Regions from separate parts of the Homo sapiens genome. Here regions 2 and 3 are each linked to region 1. Evidence: promoter capture Hi-C in 16 types of primary human blood cells and fetal thymus (Javierre and others, 2016). All regions are on one chromosome and are shown on one strand. The core of a region is centred on a gene start or on the middle of the fragment in contact, and the rest is flanking DNA. Distances in the headings are between cores, read along the strand shown.

What was found. Contacts are between HindIII fragments. The CHiCAGO score rates a contact against its expected background, and 5 or more counts as called.
Region 2: a fragment that was not itself captured here is called in contact with the fragment with the promoter of TBC1D23 in region 1 in 5 of 17 cell types (neutrophils, naive B cells, fetal thymus and 2 more); the score reaches 7.0 in neutrophils.
Region 3: a contact is called between a fragment that was not itself captured here and the fragment with the promoter of TBC1D23 in region 1, in 1 of 17 cell types (naive CD4 T cells). The highest score is 5.5, in naive CD4 T cells.

The regions. Positions count from the first base shown.
Region 1 is chr3:100,259,544-100,262,243 of GRCh38, reverse strand. TBC1D23 (TBC1 domain family member 23) reads right to left here and starts at 1,252. Exons shown (of 19, transcript NM_001199198.3): 1 at 1,173-1,252. The coding sequence starts at 1,225. RefSeq lists enhancers at 511-1,179, 955-1,444, 1,180-1,848. The HindIII fragment of the contact is 5,201 bases long and covers 1-2,700 here.
Region 2 is chr3:101,570,062-101,572,907 of GRCh38, reverse strand. No RefSeq gene overlaps it. Among named protein-coding and RNA genes, the nearest start is that of PCNP, 2.7 kb to the left of the region's middle. The HindIII fragment of the contact is 1,391 bases long and covers 805-2,195 here.
Region 3 is chr3:98,894,710-98,897,462 of GRCh38, reverse strand. All of the region lies in intron 1 of DCBLD2 (discoidin, CUB and LCCL domain containing 2), which reads left to right. Among named protein-coding and RNA genes, the nearest start is that of DCBLD2, 5.6 kb to the left of the region's middle. The HindIII fragment of the contact is 1,272 bases long and covers 622-1,893 here.

The DNA.
Region 1 (2,700 bases), core at 3-2,502:
ACAAAGAATAAGATTAATTTTACCTTGTTACACCTTCCCAACTCCAACATAAGCAAGTTGAAGAAAAAAAAACTATATCTAGATCACCATGAAGTTTTCCTCTGACACCTTGGAGAGCCCAGCGCTACGGTAATGTTTGATGTCTGCTAATGGAGAGCTGAATTTCTTAATTACTAATTATCTATCCCTTTCAACGATTTCCATTTTTTTCCTCTGGGATTAAAGTCGATGTCTATCAATGTCCTGTATTATTTTTAAAGTGCCCATGAGCTGTACACATACAATATAACGAACAAGCAAATCCAAAACTAATACATGTGGTCAATACACTTAGATCAACTGTAAAATTTAGACAAGCCTCTAAAGGTCCCTTTTTAAAAAATGATGTTGTACAACCTAACAGTGTATCGTGAGATCAACTATTTCAAAAGTAGAAGCCTTTCCCAAAGATTAACACTGGGTGAGCAGTTTACCAAAAAATTATTGGCGGTCTTCCCCCACAATCCCGAGTATAAATCAGGTAAGCATGCAACAGCTTGGGTGCAGTAAGAGCAAAGTCCCACACTGCATCCAAAGCTCAGAAATCGAGCTGTGAGAAATGTGGTAGTAGGGGAAAAGATGACTTGCGTGAAGGAGACGAACGATGAAAACTGTTGGAATGCAAAACGAGATAACAGCCAGAATAAAAAAAAGTATACCAACTAAGTGGGAGGGATTCTCCTCGGGTCAACCTCTGAACCCTCAGGCGAAGGTCGCAGTGGTCATTTCAAAACGTCTTTTCTTCACATTGTATTTTAGTGACTCAGATCTGCATCCAACAAACTTCCTTCTTCAGCCTACTCCAACTCCCACAGCCAGGACTCCGGCCAAACCCAGCCCTGAAGCCACCCACTCCAGCACACTTTGGAGACTGACAGACGACACAGGAGGACCGTTCTGAGGCCCAGCACCTGGATGACACCCCTCTCCTTGGGAGTCCCGCCCCAGTCCCTTGGGCAGAACCAGGCAGGCAGGGGGCACCCAGCTGGCAGAGGGGTAGGGCAGGGCACCGGACTTCGCCTAGGACCGGCCTCTCCGTTCCATGCCGACGCCAGACGGCTCCTCGGGGACCGGCAAGATGGTGAGAAGGAAGAATAAAGGGGCATTGGAAATTAGCCCCGGCTTTCACTCACCAGCCGTCGCCGCTCGACGTTGGCAGCGGCGGCACATCTTCTCCTTCCGCCATTGCTGTTGACGTCCACGTCACTTTGCCGAAAAGTGGATCCGGCGCTGAGACCAACTCCGAGACTCAATGTCGTAAAAGGTCTTCGGAAGTCCAGCACTGAGCTTCCCCAGAGGGGAAGAAAGAGGGAGGTGGCAAGGGACTGGAGGAACGCAACGTCACGGCGTCCCGAGGCCGAAAGGCAGCGTCTTGGGGGAGGAGACTTGGTGGAGGCAGCTGCCCCTCCAAAGACTACATGTCCCAAGATGCCACGGTGCCGCGGGCGGGGCGGGGCGCGGTGGACGCCGTCCCAGTTGGAGGCCTTGTGTGACAAACAGCGTGTCTTTTTAGCGTCCACTTAGCGTCTTCATTCCAGCTTGGCGTCGAAATTAACAAAGTTAGAATTTACAGTCCTAACTATTGGAGAAAGCAAGGGAAATGGGAATTGACATAGGGAAGGCGGACGTAGGAGAAGAGCCACAGTTCAGTAATTTCCTGCTGTAGCAATTTAATTTGAAGAAAGAGTGGGACGTAAGGAAAGGGGCAGACCACCCCTATTTGTGAGGCCCCGTCAAAAGTGTAAATGAAGGCCCACATACTTTTTGACTGAATATTTAAAAGTTGTAAATGAAGCTATATACTAAAGGAGATACGTTCTAGCCTCCTACCTTAAATATATCTTCCTAACAGTCTGGAAGATCAAGTCCGAATTTAGAATTCTAGGACTGGAATTCCAGGCAAGCAGAGCTGCCAAAATCCTTCTCTACGCGTTCCACTTCCCCTTTACACCGCATGGGCGGACACTTGGCCACCGCCGGGGCCTTGGGGTGAGCACACGCTCAGGAGGATGGACCTAAAGAAACGCTTTTGCAAGCCCTGAAAACAACAGTGATGAAGTAGAACTGCATGTAACAATATGGATACATCTGAAAAATACGCTGTTAAATGAGCAAAACAGATTGCAGACGGATAGGTAAAGTATGGTATCATTTATAGTTGGTGTTTAAAAGACAATATATTTAAAATAGATCCATATGAGTTTAAAATGCAGGAGAATGATATATAGAAAACTCGGAATGGCAGTTACATTCAGGGAAAGGGAGGAGTTTCCATGAATTTTTAAATATTTATTAAGGGCCCCAAGGTGGCCACATAGGTGGCCAGTGTTCTTTATAGAGTCTATACTTAGGTATCTAAAATGTTTCATAGTTTCAAAAACTATTTGTTTTAAATAGATACAAAACAGTACAGCTATCTCATTTACAACCAAAAACATGTTCACTCTCTTCCCTAAAGGGAAATAATACAGATCTGCATGGTACTGCACCCACTTCCAAGGCCCGGATCTCTGTAATGTTCAGTTCTCTGTTAGGGAACATTTCTTTTAACATAGAATGAGACTGTAGATGCCCTCTATCAAAAAGAATAAAAGACGTGAATCTAGGTCACATTACCATTCTAATATTCAGGACCTCCCCTGGGTCCCTTCAATTGTTGCC
Region 2 (2,846 bases), core at 251-2,750, 1.3 Mb before region 1:
GTGGTGGTGATTTTGTGATCTAGGTTGAAGTCCCTGATCCATCATTTATCATATATGTAAAAGTAACCAGCAAACTATCTTACAGGTACTTAATTCATGTTTGTTTCATTTTCCTTGTGATCTTTTCAAGGTAATCATTGAGACTCTCGTTTCTATCATTTTAAAAATGGAGATATACACGAAGATTTTTATTTGAGATTATGTATTTACAGATGCTTGTAATTTTTTATGGGGGGTGGAATGGAGTCTCTCATTCTGTCACCCAGGCTGGAGTGCAATGGCATGGTCTTGGCTCACTGCAACCTCCGCCTCCTGGGTTCAAGCGATTCTCCTGCCTCAGCCTCTCGAGTAGCTGGGACAACAGGCGCGTGCCACCACACCCGGCTAATGTTTGTATTTTTAGTAGAGACGGGGTTTCACTATGTTGGCCAGGCTGGTCTCGAACTCCTGACTTTGTGATCCGCCCACCTTAGCCTCCCTAAGTGCTGGGATTACAGGCGTGAGCCACCGTGCCCGGCCGATGCTTGTAATTTTTAAGTGAAGAAGATAAAGCTCAGAGAAGTCACATACCTATTTAGGAGCGGATCCAGTTCCCATATACCACACTGCAGAAGTTAAGGATGCATGTGCAGGACTAGGTATGAAAGGAAAAAAACGAAACAAAAAAAGGATGAAGATAGTAATCCATTCACCTTTCAGTTCTGTGAGTTTCATGAGGTGTGCCTGTCTTGTTCACCACTGTTTCCCCAGCACCTGGATTATACTAGTCTGGATAAATATCTATTGAAGAAATTAATGCAAGCTTCAGTAACCTCCTACAAACGGGTTAGGAAATGGAAAGGTAGTGTAGTATGAAGGGGTGGAAAGGGGGTGATCACTTTCCTCCCCATCAAAAGAGTCATGACAACATGCTTGTTAATAAAAGACAGGTTAACAAGAGAAAATTAATGTGCATAAGCATGGGAATGATACAACAAAATAAGAAAACTAAAAAAAGGGTCAGATGGTTGAAGTTTAATACTTTTCATAGGGGAGAGAGAGGTGGGGGGGCTACAGGCAATTTTAGAGGAGTAGTAAATGATTTTAGGAGAGATTAATGCAGAAATTCACTTGTAAATTATTCTCTTTGTAAACCAAGTGAAACTAGAGAACCAATAATAATTCGAAGGCCAGTCGTGGTGACTCACTCCCATAATCCCAGCTACTAGGGAGGCTGAGATAGAAGGATCACTTGAGCCCCGGAGGCAAGGTTGCAGTGAGCCAAGATCTCGCCACTGCACTCCAACCTGGGTGACAGAGTGAGACCCTGTCTCAAAAACAAAAAACAGTAGTTTGAGGCAAAGTTTGGGCTCTAAGTGTGGTGGTTAATTTTCAGTCTCTTCCTCTATGATGTGAGTTTTGTTTTTTTATGAGACCAGGTCGCACTGTGTTGCCCAGGCTGGAGTGTGGTGGCTATTCACAGGCATGATGATAGCACACTACAGCCTCAAACTCCTGGCCTCAAGAATCCTCCCATCTGAGACTCACAGGTAGCTGGGACTACATGTGTGCACCACTGTATCTGGCTTTGTGATATGTTTTAATTTCTTCTGGTTAATGAAATTTCAGGGAGGAAGCAGATAGAAAGCAATTGTGTTCTTTGATGTGTGTGGTTTCTAGGTAGATAAGAAACTTCAAAGAACAGTCTTATCCCGTGTTTTGGGGGAGGCAGAGGATTGAGAGGCAGGAGGTGGGGTGGGGAGATCAGAGAAACCTTGCGGCTGCTTCTCTAGTTCAGCATGTCAAAGCACCAAATTTTGGGGTACCGTTTTCTGACAATGAATAGGCAATGTAGTCCAAGGCAAAGAGCATTAGTTTTGCACCACACAAAAACTCGACTTAAATTCTAATTCTGCATTTTGCTAATTCTGTGAGTTTGTACTGGATAACAATGTTATGGAATATGTTATAACTATACAAATGGAATAATACATATAGGGTTACTGAGGGCATTGGGATAATAAAGGTTAAATCTATAATATGCTGCCTGGCCATGGTGAGAGCTTGCTTCATAGTAGCTATGGATTATAACCTCTAGTGAGCTATTTAAGTGGTTTAAAAGGCTGGAAATGGAAGGTAATATGAGCAATTATTATTTTAATTTAGATGTGTAATTTGTGAGGCGACAACTATAATATCTAACATTTATTCAAGCTTACTATACACCAAGCATTGTTGCAGGTATTCTACATGAAATTCAGTACATTAAATCATTACAACCCTGTGAATTAAGTGCTACTGTTACTCCCATTTTTATGGAAGAGGGAATTTGGGCACGGAAAAGATAAGTAAGAAGTGGAGCTGAACTTGAAATTCAGGCCAAGAGCTACCAAAAAAAAAAAAAAAAAAATTAGAGTGGAGAAGAAAAGTGGCTAATCTTGATTTCACTAACCTTAAGTAGGTTCTTTTTTTTGTTTTGTTTTTGTTTTTGTTTTGAGACAGGATCTCGTTCTGTTGCCCAGGTTAGAGTACAGTGGCTCATAGCTCACTGCAGCCTTGAACTCCTGGGCTGAAGTGATCCTCCTGCCTTAGCCTCCCAAAATTCTCGGATTACAGGCATGAGCCATTAAGTAGGTTCTTAATGTAGCCTTATAATTCTATTACATGTCCTCAGACTATTCTCAATTTCAGTGTACATCAGAATCACCTGAAGGACATGTTAAAACAGATTGCTGGGCCCCATTGCCAGTTTCTGATTCAGTTGACTCAATGGCTGGAGCCCTAAAATTTGCATTTCTAACTAGTTCCCAAGTAATGCTGATGCTGCTCGTTGGGGAACCACACTTTGAGAACCACTGCCCTAATTC
Region 3 (2,753 bases), core at 8-2,507, 1.4 Mb after region 1:
CCATTGTCTTTTCTTTGTCTGATAAAACATTGGGGCTCTTATCCAGTTTTGTTCAGAAGCAAATAAATCAAAGCATCCTTTTCTGCTATATTTCTAATTAATTTTACAAAATGAAAATTAGAAGCAGCACACAATCCACACGTGTGAATGATCAGATTGAAACAGCACATTTTTGAAACTTGTAAATGAAAAATTGATTCTAAGATTGCAGGTAAATTATAGGTAGATTTCTCAGTGTTAGAAACAAAAAGAACATATTATTTTCCCTGGGGATAGTTGATAATTCCATTTGAACATCTGAGCCTCATTTTAAAGACAAACATGTAAAAATATCTTAAAATGGTGGAATTGGCATAAGTAAAATACCAGTAGTAGAATTAAAATGACAAATTAATTTCCAAAAGTTAATAGATCATGTATGTGGGAAAGGGCTAGATTTACATAGGAGTAGAATTTAAATTTAGGACTACACTTAGCAAAGTGACACTGGGAAGTGAAGCTCAGGTAGTAATGTTGGACATTAATTGAATGCATACAAGTAGACAGTTTCTGCTTCCACTTCTTGATATATTTGGAAGGATATGGAATGATGACCCAACAGTAGAAGGATGAGGAAAAGCTTCATAAAGATAGTGATATTTGCTAAGTGTGATTGTTGAAATATGAAGTGAGACAATTTGGCAATTTTTCTGATGTGGCTCCTGGATTCGGTTTTCTTTATAACAACCTTACGGCCATAGGACTTTGTATTTATTTTTAAATATTGTATGGATAACAATGATTATTACTCAAAACTAAAAACGTAGATGATTATCCACATTTCTGTCTTCTAATCCATCGACTTATAATTTTTAACTTTCCTTTCTATTACATATTCACATACCTGCATAATCTTTTGTAGTTGTAATTTTAATAGTGTGTTCATGTAAAATTAACTTATAGGCTAATTTAGCACACATAAGCATACCTACAAAATACAGTAAAACAAAAATTTCAAAATGCAAAATTTTATCATAAGACATTCAGTATTTATAAAGTAATTACTGTATTGTTCAGAGCTGTTATTGTATTTAATTGAATTCTTCATTCTGGAGAAAAATCTTTGAGAAAGTATTTCAGTTCAAAATGTTAGTTTAGAAACAAATATCAGGCTAATTTTTCAGTTCATTATTTGGGTTAAATTAGTACAACCTATGAGGACAGAAAATACAGATATTCAAATAAACTAGTATCTAATGAGTGCCAGTGCAGTACCCACTGAAGCTGATGAGATACTCATGATTTCCAAGGGCTACTAAAACATCATTCACCAGCTGAACGTGCACCCTGATGGGTGTGTAATTGAAAGAAAAACTTTGATTTGCTGCTTGAATTATGGGAGAATCCCAAGATGCACGTTCCCTCAACTGCTTTTTAAGGAGAGTGGCCCAGAATTCCCTGCAAGGCTTTTGTTGAGTAGGGTGTGTGCAACCTTGCCTTCAAAACTGAATTGCCTGGGATCAAAGAGAAGGTATTGGCACTCTTTATCATTCTCTCATTAAGAACTATCAGTATGAAGGGGTACCAACTGTGAACTCTCAAGAGAGTGTGCATGTACCTCAGTATAGTCCTGAGACATTCAGAGAAGAGTAAAACATTGTTATTGTCTTCAGAGAACCTACAGTCTATTTGAGAAAGTAATTCAAGTTGGAATATATATAATAATAACCAAGGAAGGATATCAGAAGGTTATGTAAGGCAGAGAGAACTCACCACTCCTGGAGAAGCAGGAGACGCCTACTATAATAATAATCAAGGAAGGTTATAAGAAGGTTGTATAAGGCAGAAAAAGCTCACAACTCCTGGAGAAGTAGGAGACGCCTCACTGATAAAGTGGTTTTAGATTGGTAAGCTTTGAAGTTTGGTAGGTTTCTTGTCCACAAGGAACAGCAGATATTTGAAGAGTAAGATCATAAGATTATAACCTGGGGAGTCAGGAAAGTGGGAGTGTGAAAGCCCACCCTTTTAGAATGAGTAGCAAAACTCATTCTGGTCATGCTCCACTGTTTGCTTCTTGAACTCATGCCCTGTGTCTGCCCAGTTATTGGAAAAACGTTGGTTGGTTACTGTGGGCCAGGCATGGTACCACATGCTGGGGCATTTTCCTCTTGGAGCTGTGTTAATGACTTCCATAGTGTTGCCAGCAGCCCCTTTATCATCTGTAAGATACCGTCCAAACTCCTTTGCGTATCATGTAAGTAATTTTTTTCACAGTCTGGTCCCTCCCTTTCACTCTGACTTAATCTAATGCCAGCATTTCTCACACTGTATAGTTCAGATATGAGACTGAGCTAATTTTATTCTTCTAAGATATAATTTCATGCCATTTTGCCTTGTTCCCTATACTAACCTCTTCATATATGCAGTTTCCTCTACTTGAAATGCTCTTACTTTCCTTGTCTTCTCGGTAAACTCTCGATCAGCCTTCAAAACCCTTCTTGGGTATCATCCCTTTATGAAGAGTTCTCGAACAGTCCCCACACACTCATCTCCGGATAATACATTCCACACTGTATTCTAAGTATTTATTCCTGCCAGCGGAGAGAGTTTTATTCATTTTCTTATTTCTAATACTTATCATAGTGTCTGTCATTCAAATTATGTGAATTAAGAACCCCATTTCTAGAGTTAATCTGCTACCCTGAGCACATTATTTGGTTCATCCCTTGGCACCGGCATGCACTTCATGCTGTTGTCCTTTGCCTAATCCCCGT